Regions from separate parts of the Homo sapiens genome. Here region 1 is linked to region 2. The links are contacts of gene promoters, found by promoter capture Hi-C in human tissues and cell types (Jung and others, 2019). All regions are on one chromosome and are shown on one strand. Each heading gives the region's core, a stretch centred on a gene start or on the middle of the fragment in contact. The rest is flanking DNA. Distances are from core to core; before and after follow the strand shown.

Region 1 (4,869 bases), core at 2,256-4,755, 130 kb before region 2:
CCCAGCTACTCGGAGGCTGAGGCACCAGAATCGCTTGAACTTGGGAGGCAGAGGTTGCAGTGAGCAGAGATCGTGCCACTGCACTCCAGCCTGGGGGACAAGAGTGAAACTCCATCTCAAAAAAAAAAAAAAAAAAAAGCACATCTGACTCAGTGGGCTCTGTGCTCTAACAAGCTCCCAGGGAACGCGAGGCTGCTGGCCCAGGGACCCACTGAGAGGTCCTGGGAAGTACATGGCAGAGCAAGGACATGAACCTGGGCCAAGGCTGTCCAGCTCCAAGGCCCACGTTCTTGCTGCTCCACAGCCAAGAATTTCTTCCAGATTCTCTAAGGCTTTTGGCAAGAGAGGCTCACACCCTGGTATTCCCTTCCTCTGTGGCTGGAATAACTTGACTGTTCTCTGCCTTCCCTGGATAAAGGTGTATCATGTTTAAAAACAAAACAAAATACAACTTAAGCACATACTTGCTTGCAGGAATAAGTTGGGCAGGTTGATCCCTGTGGTCTAGTAGCTGATATCCTGGGATAAGAAGTGTTTGGGGAAAAGAATCATGTTGGCCTTTATGTCCCTGTGGTCCTGATCATCCAGTCCTGGACAGGCACTTTACAGTTTTCTGGAGCACTTCCCCCCCAGGGGTTCTGATGCAAGCATGGAATCCAAAAAAACCCCACACATATTGCCCATGTTTACCCACTTTGCATACTGTTTAGTGATTTCCAGGACCACAAAACCATCCCTGGAACCCCACCCCACATTTTTGCAGCAGAGCCCACTGGGAAGTTGAGGCTCACCTGAAATTGAGGTGCTATCTGAAGCTAACTGCCCCTAACAGGCCAGACTCACAATGCCCACCCAGGACATCTGTCCCAGCAGATCTGGCTTCAGGGGTCACTTCAGGAGAACCATTTAAATCCCCCCACTTGGCATCTCACTCCTGGCCAACCCTCTGTTCCAGGGCGAACCAGGTTGCAAATGACAAAAGACTTTCCTGGCCAAATTCCTCACTGGCCTGGATCACGCCCATAAGATGCCAGAGATGTTTACTGCGTTGGAAAAATCAGTCGGGGTCAGGGGTCAGGCACCAAGGAAAGCAGGCAGATCTAGAAGAAATTAAATATGCTTGTTCTCTCCCTATCCAAGTTTGATGGGCATGGGAACCTTGTGGGGAGGGAGCAGGGAGGGCAGGGGAACTGGGAGATCAAAGCAGGCTAGCTGAAAGGCAGATATGGCTAGACACAATGGCTCATGCCTGTAATCCCAGCACTTTGGGAGGCTGAGGTGGGCGGACCACCTCAGGTCAGGAGTTTGAGACCAGCCTGGCCAACATGGCAAAACCCGGTCTCTACCAAATATACAAAAATTAAGGCTGGGCACGAGGGCTCATGTCTGACATCCCAGCACTCTGGGAGGCCGAGGTAGGCAGATCACTTGAAGTAAGGCGTTCGAGAACAGCCTGACCAACATGGTGAAACCCCATCTCTACTAAAAATACAAAAATTAGCCAGGCATGGTGGCAGGTGCCTGTAATCCCAGCTACTCAGGAGGCTCAGGCGGGAGAATCACTTGAACCCAGGAGGCGGAGGTTGCGGTGAGCCAAGATCACGCCATTGCACTCCAGCCTGGGCGACAGAGTGAGACTCCAAAAATATAAAACACTTAAAAATGTAAAAAGGCAGATCTGCCAGCAGCTTCGTACTTGAGACCAGACAACCCACACATGCTGTGTGTGCCTCACATTAAGTGGTGACTCGGGACTGTGCTGGCTCTGTGGGGCTAGAACCCTAAGGAGTACCGCCGGAAGAAAGCCCAGCATTACTATGGCTGGGGGACAGCTGTTAGATGGTCCTAGGACATCAGCCATGGAGAACACAGAGGGTCAGGACAAAGCTAAAATGCCCATAGAACTGCCACTGGTTGCCAGGGTAGTTCCATGGTTGGAAATTCAAGGCCCGTCTCTTTGCCCTAGCTATCTCTATTTGACATTTCCAAAGAGGGATGGGTGGATGGAACCTCTTAACTCCAGAGCTGGGAATCCCAAAGCCCTCTCAAGTGTCTAACCAACCTCTCTGCCAGGAAGTTCTTCCTTAGGTCTATCTTAAATTTATTTTGCTCATACAGAAGCCAGTTTCCTCTAATCCAGGGTTTAGCAAACTTTTACTGTGAGGAGCCAAATAAACATTTTAGGATTTGCAAGCCATCTGATCTCCACCAGCTACTCAGCTCTGCCGTAGCTCGAAGCAGCCACAGAGAGTGTGTAAATGAATTCATGGCTATGCTCCAGGAAAACTATTTCTGGACACACATGTGAATTCTGTATACTTTTCACATGTCACAAAATATTATTCTCTCTTTCCTTTTTTTTTTTTTTGGAGATGGAGTTTTGCTCTGCTGCCCAGGCTGGAATGCAGTGGCTCAGTCTCAGCTCACTGCAACCTCTTCATCCCAGGTTCAAGCAATTCTCCTGCCTCAGCCTCCCAAGTAGCTGTGACTACAGGCATGTGCCACCACACCTGGTTAATTTTTGTATTTTTAGTAGAGATAAGGTTTTACCATGTTGGCCAGGCTGGTCTCAAACTTCTGACCTCAGGTGATCCGCCCGCCTCAGCCTCCCAAAATGCTGGGATTACAGGTGTGAGCCACCGCACCTGGCCATAAAATATTATTAGTTTAATTTTCTAAAACCATTTAAAAGTGCAAAAACTGCTCTTTGCTTGCCAACTGCGCAAAACCAGGCAGTGGGGCAGATTTGGCCTGAGGGTCACGGTTTGCCAACCCCTGCTCAAGCCTGCTCACTCTCAACGCTGGCTGCACGTTGCAATAATCCAGGAACATTCACAGGCCTGGGGCCCACCCACAAAGCTTCTGTTTTGTTTGGTCTGGGCTTCATAGTTTTTCTCCCAGGTAACTTCAGGTGCAGCTGGGGCGGAGAGTCTCTGCTCTCCCCTTCCATCTGTAGCAGTGTGGCTGGTGTTAAATCCACCTATTCCACCTCTCACAGCTTTGGCAACCTTAGGAAAGTTTCTTAAGGTCTCTGTGCCTTGATTTTTTCATCTGTAAAATGGGAATAATAACTCTCCCTTCATAGGGTTGTTGTGAGTAGTGAATGCATACTTCTTTTTTTTTTTTTTTCTTTTGAGACAGAGTTTCACTCTTGTTGCCCAGGCTGGAGTGCAGTGGCACGATCTCGGCTCACTGCGACCTCTGCCTCCTGGGTACAAGTGATTCTCCCGCCTCAGCCTCTCGCGTACCTGGGATTATAGGCAAGCATCACCACGCCCGGTTACTGTTTGTATTTTTAGTAGAGATGGGGTTTCACCATGTTGGCCAGGCTGGTCTCAAACTCCTGACCTCAGGTGATCCCCCCGTCTCAGCCTCCCAAAGTGCTGGGATTACAGGCATGAGCCAGCATGCCTGGCCTGTGAACGCAGAATTCTTATAAGGTGTTTAGAACAGTGCCTAGCACCTAATAAACCTCCAGTGTTAGCTAATTTGTTATTCTAGGAGAATTTTAGATGTCGGTTCTTTGACAATGACCCATCACATACTCTGAGATCATTTCTAAGTCACCATTCAAGCTCCTTCCCCAAAGTGTGTTCCATAGAACACTGGGACCATGAGATGCTCTATTAGAAAGGGTCAGGGTACGGTTCCATGGTCAGAGAGGTTTGGAAAACTGTTCTGGCCTCAGCCCTTGGCAGCATGTGCAGATTCCAGGCACCGAGGCAGGGCTGGAGGAGTAAGTGGCTTTGCAATAAAATGGGTGCTGGAGTCTAAAATGATACCCTGGGTGGAGTGGGGGAGCTGAGCAGGAGGCCAGGTGGCAACCAGTAGCTGCTGGGCCCGTGGCCTGAACCCTCCTGCACTCCTCCAGCTGGAGTCTCACCGCGGATCCCAGGAATACCTGCTGTTCCCACAGGGCTGCCTTTCCGTAGTTTGTCTGGAGACACCAAGAGTGGTTTCCATGCCTGCTGGGAATAGGCTGAGCATGCAATGACATGAGGGCCAAGGCTTGTGGGAAAATGACAGCTTCACAGCCCCTTGAGGAGTGACCAAGCCACAAAGTAAATCCTAAAGCCACAACCCCTTCTACCACTGAGCTGCTGGAGGTGGGTCCTTATTTCAAGCCATATTCAACCCACCCAACAAAACCTAACATTGAGGTGGTGGGCACACGGCCCCTGCCGTGGGGCTCACTCTGCAGCTGGAGAGACAGCATACCTGAAACCTGCAAGGAACCGGTTTATAAAACAACAGAACAGCCAGGAAAATGGTGCTAGGAGAGACAGTGGAGAGGCCAGAGAAGCAAACCACTGTGGCTCCTCACTGGGGGTTTCACGGGGTTGGACTGAGCCCTGTCACCTCTGTGATAGTCTTCACTCTGACAGGCAATGGTGACTGTGTGTGTTTCCTGGGGAGGAGGTTAGCAGGGACGGTTGCCTTTCCTGGGAAGGGCAGTTTGCAGAACCAGGGGTTTATATTGCAGGGAGTGTATTTTCTGAATTCTAAGTCAGAACAAGCAGTCTGATACAGGATCCATGGCTGGGTCACTTCTGGGTGCAAGAGGCTTTCTAGACCTTAGACACTCAAGATTACGGTCCCGGGCCAGTAACAGCACCTGGGAGCTTGGTAGAAATGCAGAATCTTAGCCTAGGCAACATAGGGAGACCTCATCTCTGCAAAAAATAACAAAATTAGCCGGGCATGGTGGTGCACACCTGTAGTCCCAGCTATTCTCCAGGCTGAGGTGGGAGGATCGCTTGAGCCCAAGAGGTTGAGGCTGCAGTGAGCCATGATCGCACCACTGCACTCCAGCTTAGGCAATACAGCGAGACCTTGTCTCAAAAAAAGACAAAAAAAACAAAAAGAAAT
Region 2 (4,571 bases), core at 514-3,013:
GAGTGGAGAAAACGGCTGGATACGTGCCCTCAGGTTGCACACGTATCCTGCCCTGCTTTGAAAAGCAGTTTCTCCCAAGTGCCTCAAGTGCTTGAGATATTCAATAACATTTCAGAGCATTAAAAACTCTGAAAGAAAAGAAAGCCTGCTACCTCTGAGGCCACATCCTCATCCCACCATGAAGATGCCTTGAGATCACAGGGCTTTGTGGTTTTAGTTGGGTTGGTTTCTTTGAAATGAGGGATTATTTTTAATGCGCCAAGACAAATCAGTTTCAAAAGATAAAGCTTATAATGTTGACTTTATTTCACCGTGGAAATTTTGTGCTCAAAGGTAAGAAACCATCTTATATAAAACAATCAAATAAATACATAAATACATTAAAAAAATGAGTCACTTCAAAGGCGGCCACAGGGTTGAGGAAAAAGCCCCTTGTGGAATCAGAAGCAGGTGTCTGCAGCCAGGACTTCCTCTTAATGCCGCCTCAGCACTGTCAGGGAAAGAGAGAGGGTGATGATGGTTAGGGTGGGAGATGGAGGCAGGGGCTGAGCTTACCTCATCGTGTGCCACCCACCACCCTGTTAGTCATCAGACGTTTGAGGCTTAATGCAACTCTCTGAGCCTCAGTTTCCTCATCTGTAAATTGGGGATTATCATTGCTCTGGTGATCCTGCTCTCTGCCTTTGAGACTATAGACAGTTTAGAGGAAACCAGGAGGAAATGTTTGGTTCTCTTTCTGCACCACTGGGGGGCTGCCAAATGATAAACAGACCCCCAAAGGAGATTCTGCCCCTTTGATAAGAAGTAGGAGGTGGGGAGAAGGTATTGTGGGCATGGTAATGAAATAAGCCCACATTTACTAATTCCACAAAGGCACCCCTTGGCCCTGAAGGCTGTTAACAAGAGGAAGCGATGTCCAGGTGACCTTTTCTCAAAGAGTGTGGTTCCCAGAGACAACAAACCCCAAAGTGACTCTAACAGTGTCACACACTGGAATGGGGGAAGGCGGCCGGGGTGGCAGGGGGTGCTTACCTTTGCAGCCCAGGCCACTGGAGGAGCTGATCCGGTCCATCTTCCTCCCAAAGCAGCCAGACCCTTGCACCATCTTGGGGCTTCGTGGTGCCCGCAGGGTGTAGAGGACCATTTTGCGGTGCCCACGGATGCCCTCGGTGGCTACCTCCCGGGACTTCCAGACACCTGTGGGACGGGGGCTCTCCTGGAGGGGCTCCAGGGATGTCTGCTCCACCTGCAGCTCCGACAGTTTGCCCTGCAAATGGTTGCGCTGCTCCTGCAATGAATGGGGGCGTCCAAGCCTCAGGGACCCACCCCTGGGCTCACCAGCCCTTCATGGCACCCAAGTGAACCGACTGCCTTGGGTACAGGGTCAGGGCACCCAGTCTCTCCATTTTCTGATTCCTTTATCACTAATTCCAAAGGAAAGATGAGGGCCTCTTGGGACAGCAGGTGAGGACCCTTTCATTGCTGCTGTCCAATCCCCCTGAGCTGCCCTCCGCTCTCACCTGTAACCCGGACGTTTCCAAGTCCGAGGCTGAACCGGGGCTGCCCAGCGGGTGGGAACGACCTCCCAGGAAAGCCAGATGCAAGAAGAGCAGGAGCAGGAGCGCCCGGGAAGGTGCTGTCTGGGGATCCATGTCTCTGGAGGGACTGCGGAGGCTGCTGCTGCTGCTTCTGCTGCTGCTGCTGCTGCTGCGATGCGTCCGGGTTTGCTTCCCACCTGCCCTCAGCCTGCGGGGTGCTCCTCCTGGCTCCTCGGGACACCGTGGCCTTTTATCCTGGAGCTGAGTGTCGGGCCTGCCCTGCCATGCAGGGTTATCTCTGATTTATCAGCCACATTCCGGGCCTCTGAGATCAGGGCCCGGGAATGAGCCCCTCCGCGCCTGCGACGTGGGAGGTGGAGACCGGGCAGAGCCGACCTTGTATAGAAATGGGCCGGGTCGGGCCGGGGGGCAGGAACGCGCTGGAGACACAGACAAGTCCCCGTCTCCCGCTTCTTCCTTTCCTGCAAATGTCCAGGTGTCCTAGGTTGGCGCTTTCTTCCTGCCTCCCCACCCCACCGTTGCTGGAAAAGGCAGGGAGGACCCCGGCTTTCCGAGGACCGACGTGAGCGCGGGGAGCACGGGGTGACTCACAGCGAAAACAGCCCCGGCCAAGACCCCGCCACCCGCGGCGCCTCTCCCCTCCCCGCGCGAGTTCCCTGGCCCGCACGTAGCGCAGCACCTGCTCGCCGCTGTGCACCCTGCCTGCCTGCGGGTCCTCGGGGGCGCCCTGGCCGCTGTCCGTGGTGCTGATCACCCCGAGGGAACTTGGAGCAAACTCTCAAGAGCTGCTCTCTTCAACGGGATTTTCAGGCCAGAAAGACCTGCGTGGAGCAAGGACAAGAGACCTCCGAGACCTTTCCCTATGCTCTCACAATCCGCCATCTTATAGTCCTTACAGCAACGGGATGCTGATTCCCCAGTGGCAATTCATTAAAAGCCTGGGTATGACCAGGAACTTCTGGAATGCTGACCCTTCTTTCACTCCTTAAAGGGAAGAGCAGATTTCGCTGGAATTTTGAGAGATAGGGTCCAGTGATGACGAAGTCACCCAAGAATGCCTTATATGTGTGTCCTCCACGTGTCAACACCTCCTCTCCCCCACCAAGCCAACACAGGATGGAAAACAAAAGGATAGGCTGGGCATGGTGGTTCACGCCTGTAATCCCAGCACTTTGAGAGGCCGAGGCGGTCGGATCACGAGGTCAGGAGATCGAGACCACGGTGAAACCCCGTCTCTACTAAAATTACCAAAAATTAGCTGGGCATGGTGGCAGGCGCCTGTAGTCCCAGCTACTCGGGAGGCTGAGGAAGGAGAATCACTTGAACCCAGGAGGTGGAGGTTGCAGTGAGCTGAGATCACGCCACTGCACTCCAGCCTGGTTGACAGAGAGCGAAAAAAGAAAGAAAGAAAGAAGGAAAGAAAGAAAGAAAGAAAGAAAGAAAACAAAAGGATGGCTGGAATGATGGTTATCTATTTGCTGGGATACCAGAGATATGGGGATTTCCCCTCTCCCAGTGCCTCCTTCATCTGACCACCCATGATCTAATTATCATTAGCAGGTGGCCTGGTGATTAGAAGTGAGACTTTGGAGAGAAATGCCCCTGAGAAGAGTCATAGCAGCTTAAATACCCCCCTAAAGCATATATGACTGATGTCACTCCCCTTCCAGAGAATTGGTGTCAACAAGCAGCAGGCTGGAGGAGTGGAGCTGTCTATGAGGGGAGAAGAGTTACAGCAGAGAAGGGCAGCAATAAGAAACTGGGACCTCTAAGCAGATCTTGCCTAAAAAATAGCATCTGCCCCTGAGGTGAGAAAAGCACGGTTATTATTCCTCACTTCAGAGGAGGAAATGGTGTTCATGAATTAATCTACTTTCCAAAAGTCACACAATTGACACATGATAAATCCTGGATTCTAACCAGTCTGATTAGTCTAGCCAGCAGTCTGATTCCAGACCTGAAGCTCATAATCACTGCCAGGGTGATCACAAGGTGTTTCTACAAAAAGCAAGCTTAGGTGAATCCCGTGTCATCTATGAAGGCTCTGGGAGCTGTGCTGTGGGGGATGTGCAATTCTAGTGGTGACTGTGTGTGCAGGAGAAAGAATGGGAAGTGGCTCAGATGAGCATTTTGCAGATGAAATATAAATGGAGGTGGGTGGGTAAGGGCTGTGTAAAGACACCAGTGCTGGAAATGTTCTGGGGGGCTGGGGTAGTTTTGTGTGTGTGTGTGTGTGTGTGTGTGTGTGTGTGCGTGCACATGAGCATGCCACAGTAAGAGTATCAAAAGGCTAAGAGGAAGCTAAAGAGGTAAGAAAATTCAGCCAAGTGCAGAGGGGAGTCAGTGGGCGAGAGGCTGCTGAGGGTGCAGAAAGCCCCTCATGCTGAGTACCATGAGATAAAGGGTTCAGAGCAAGGCAGGATTCATCAACCAGCACCATCAAAAACTGACTCTGCATCTCGCCAGAGCCTCACTTTGCTCTTCGGCAAAATGGACAGTCCTTGCAAGGACTAAAAGGAAAAAAATAATATCTGCAAAAGCCCGTGGCACTGTATAAAGGGCCAAATAATTAGTAGTACATGAGAGTTGGTCTTTACACTGAAGGAGATTGTGATCTCACTGGGGAGACAAAGTGACCCCAAGTGAGACAATTAAGTGTCTAAGTGTCATACACTCTGACAGAGTTTCTATCTGTCCCCAGTGGAGGGGACTGTGGAAGAAGACTTGAGGAAGACACAGAACTAGACACATCCTCCAAGGCCTGCTGTCCAGGGAGGAGGATATGTTGTCAACTAACTCTCACACCAGATCAGCCCCATCAACATTTATCGAGGGCCTGTCATATGCTATGTGCTTTCCAAGTCTATTTAATGAAGCTAATCATAACACCTCTGTTGGAGCATTAATGTACAAGGATTAAATTTGATGATGTCTGTGGTAAGCTGAATAATAGTCCCCAAAAGATGTCCATATTCTAATCCCCAGAATCTGCGAATATACTACTTTACATGG

What was found. The method cuts DNA at HindIII sites, captures the fragments that hold promoters and counts their contacts. A contact is called where the count stands out against the background at its distance.
Region 1: a contact is called between a fragment that was not itself captured here and the fragment with the promoter of NPPB in region 2, in 1 of the 25 tissues and cell types used here (bladder).

What each region holds. Positions count from the first base shown.
Region 1 is chr1:11,720,476-11,725,344 of GRCh38, forward strand. It overlaps DRAXIN (dorsal inhibitory axon guidance protein), which reads left to right. Exons shown (of 7, transcript NM_198545.4): 7 at 1-4,869. Among named protein-coding and RNA genes, the nearest start is that of AGTRAP, 13 kb to the right of the region's middle. The HindIII fragment of the contact is 8,805 bases long and covers 1-4,869 here.
Region 2 is chr1:11,857,182-11,861,752 of GRCh38, forward strand. It overlaps NPPB (natriuretic peptide B), which reads right to left and starts at 1,764. Exons shown (of 3, transcript NM_002521.3): 1 at 1,521-1,764; 2 at 1,033-1,288; 3 at 283-490. The coding sequence starts at 1,652. The coding sequence ends at 474. RefSeq lists a silencer at 2,163-2,329. The HindIII fragment of the contact is 5,805 bases long and covers 1-4,268 here.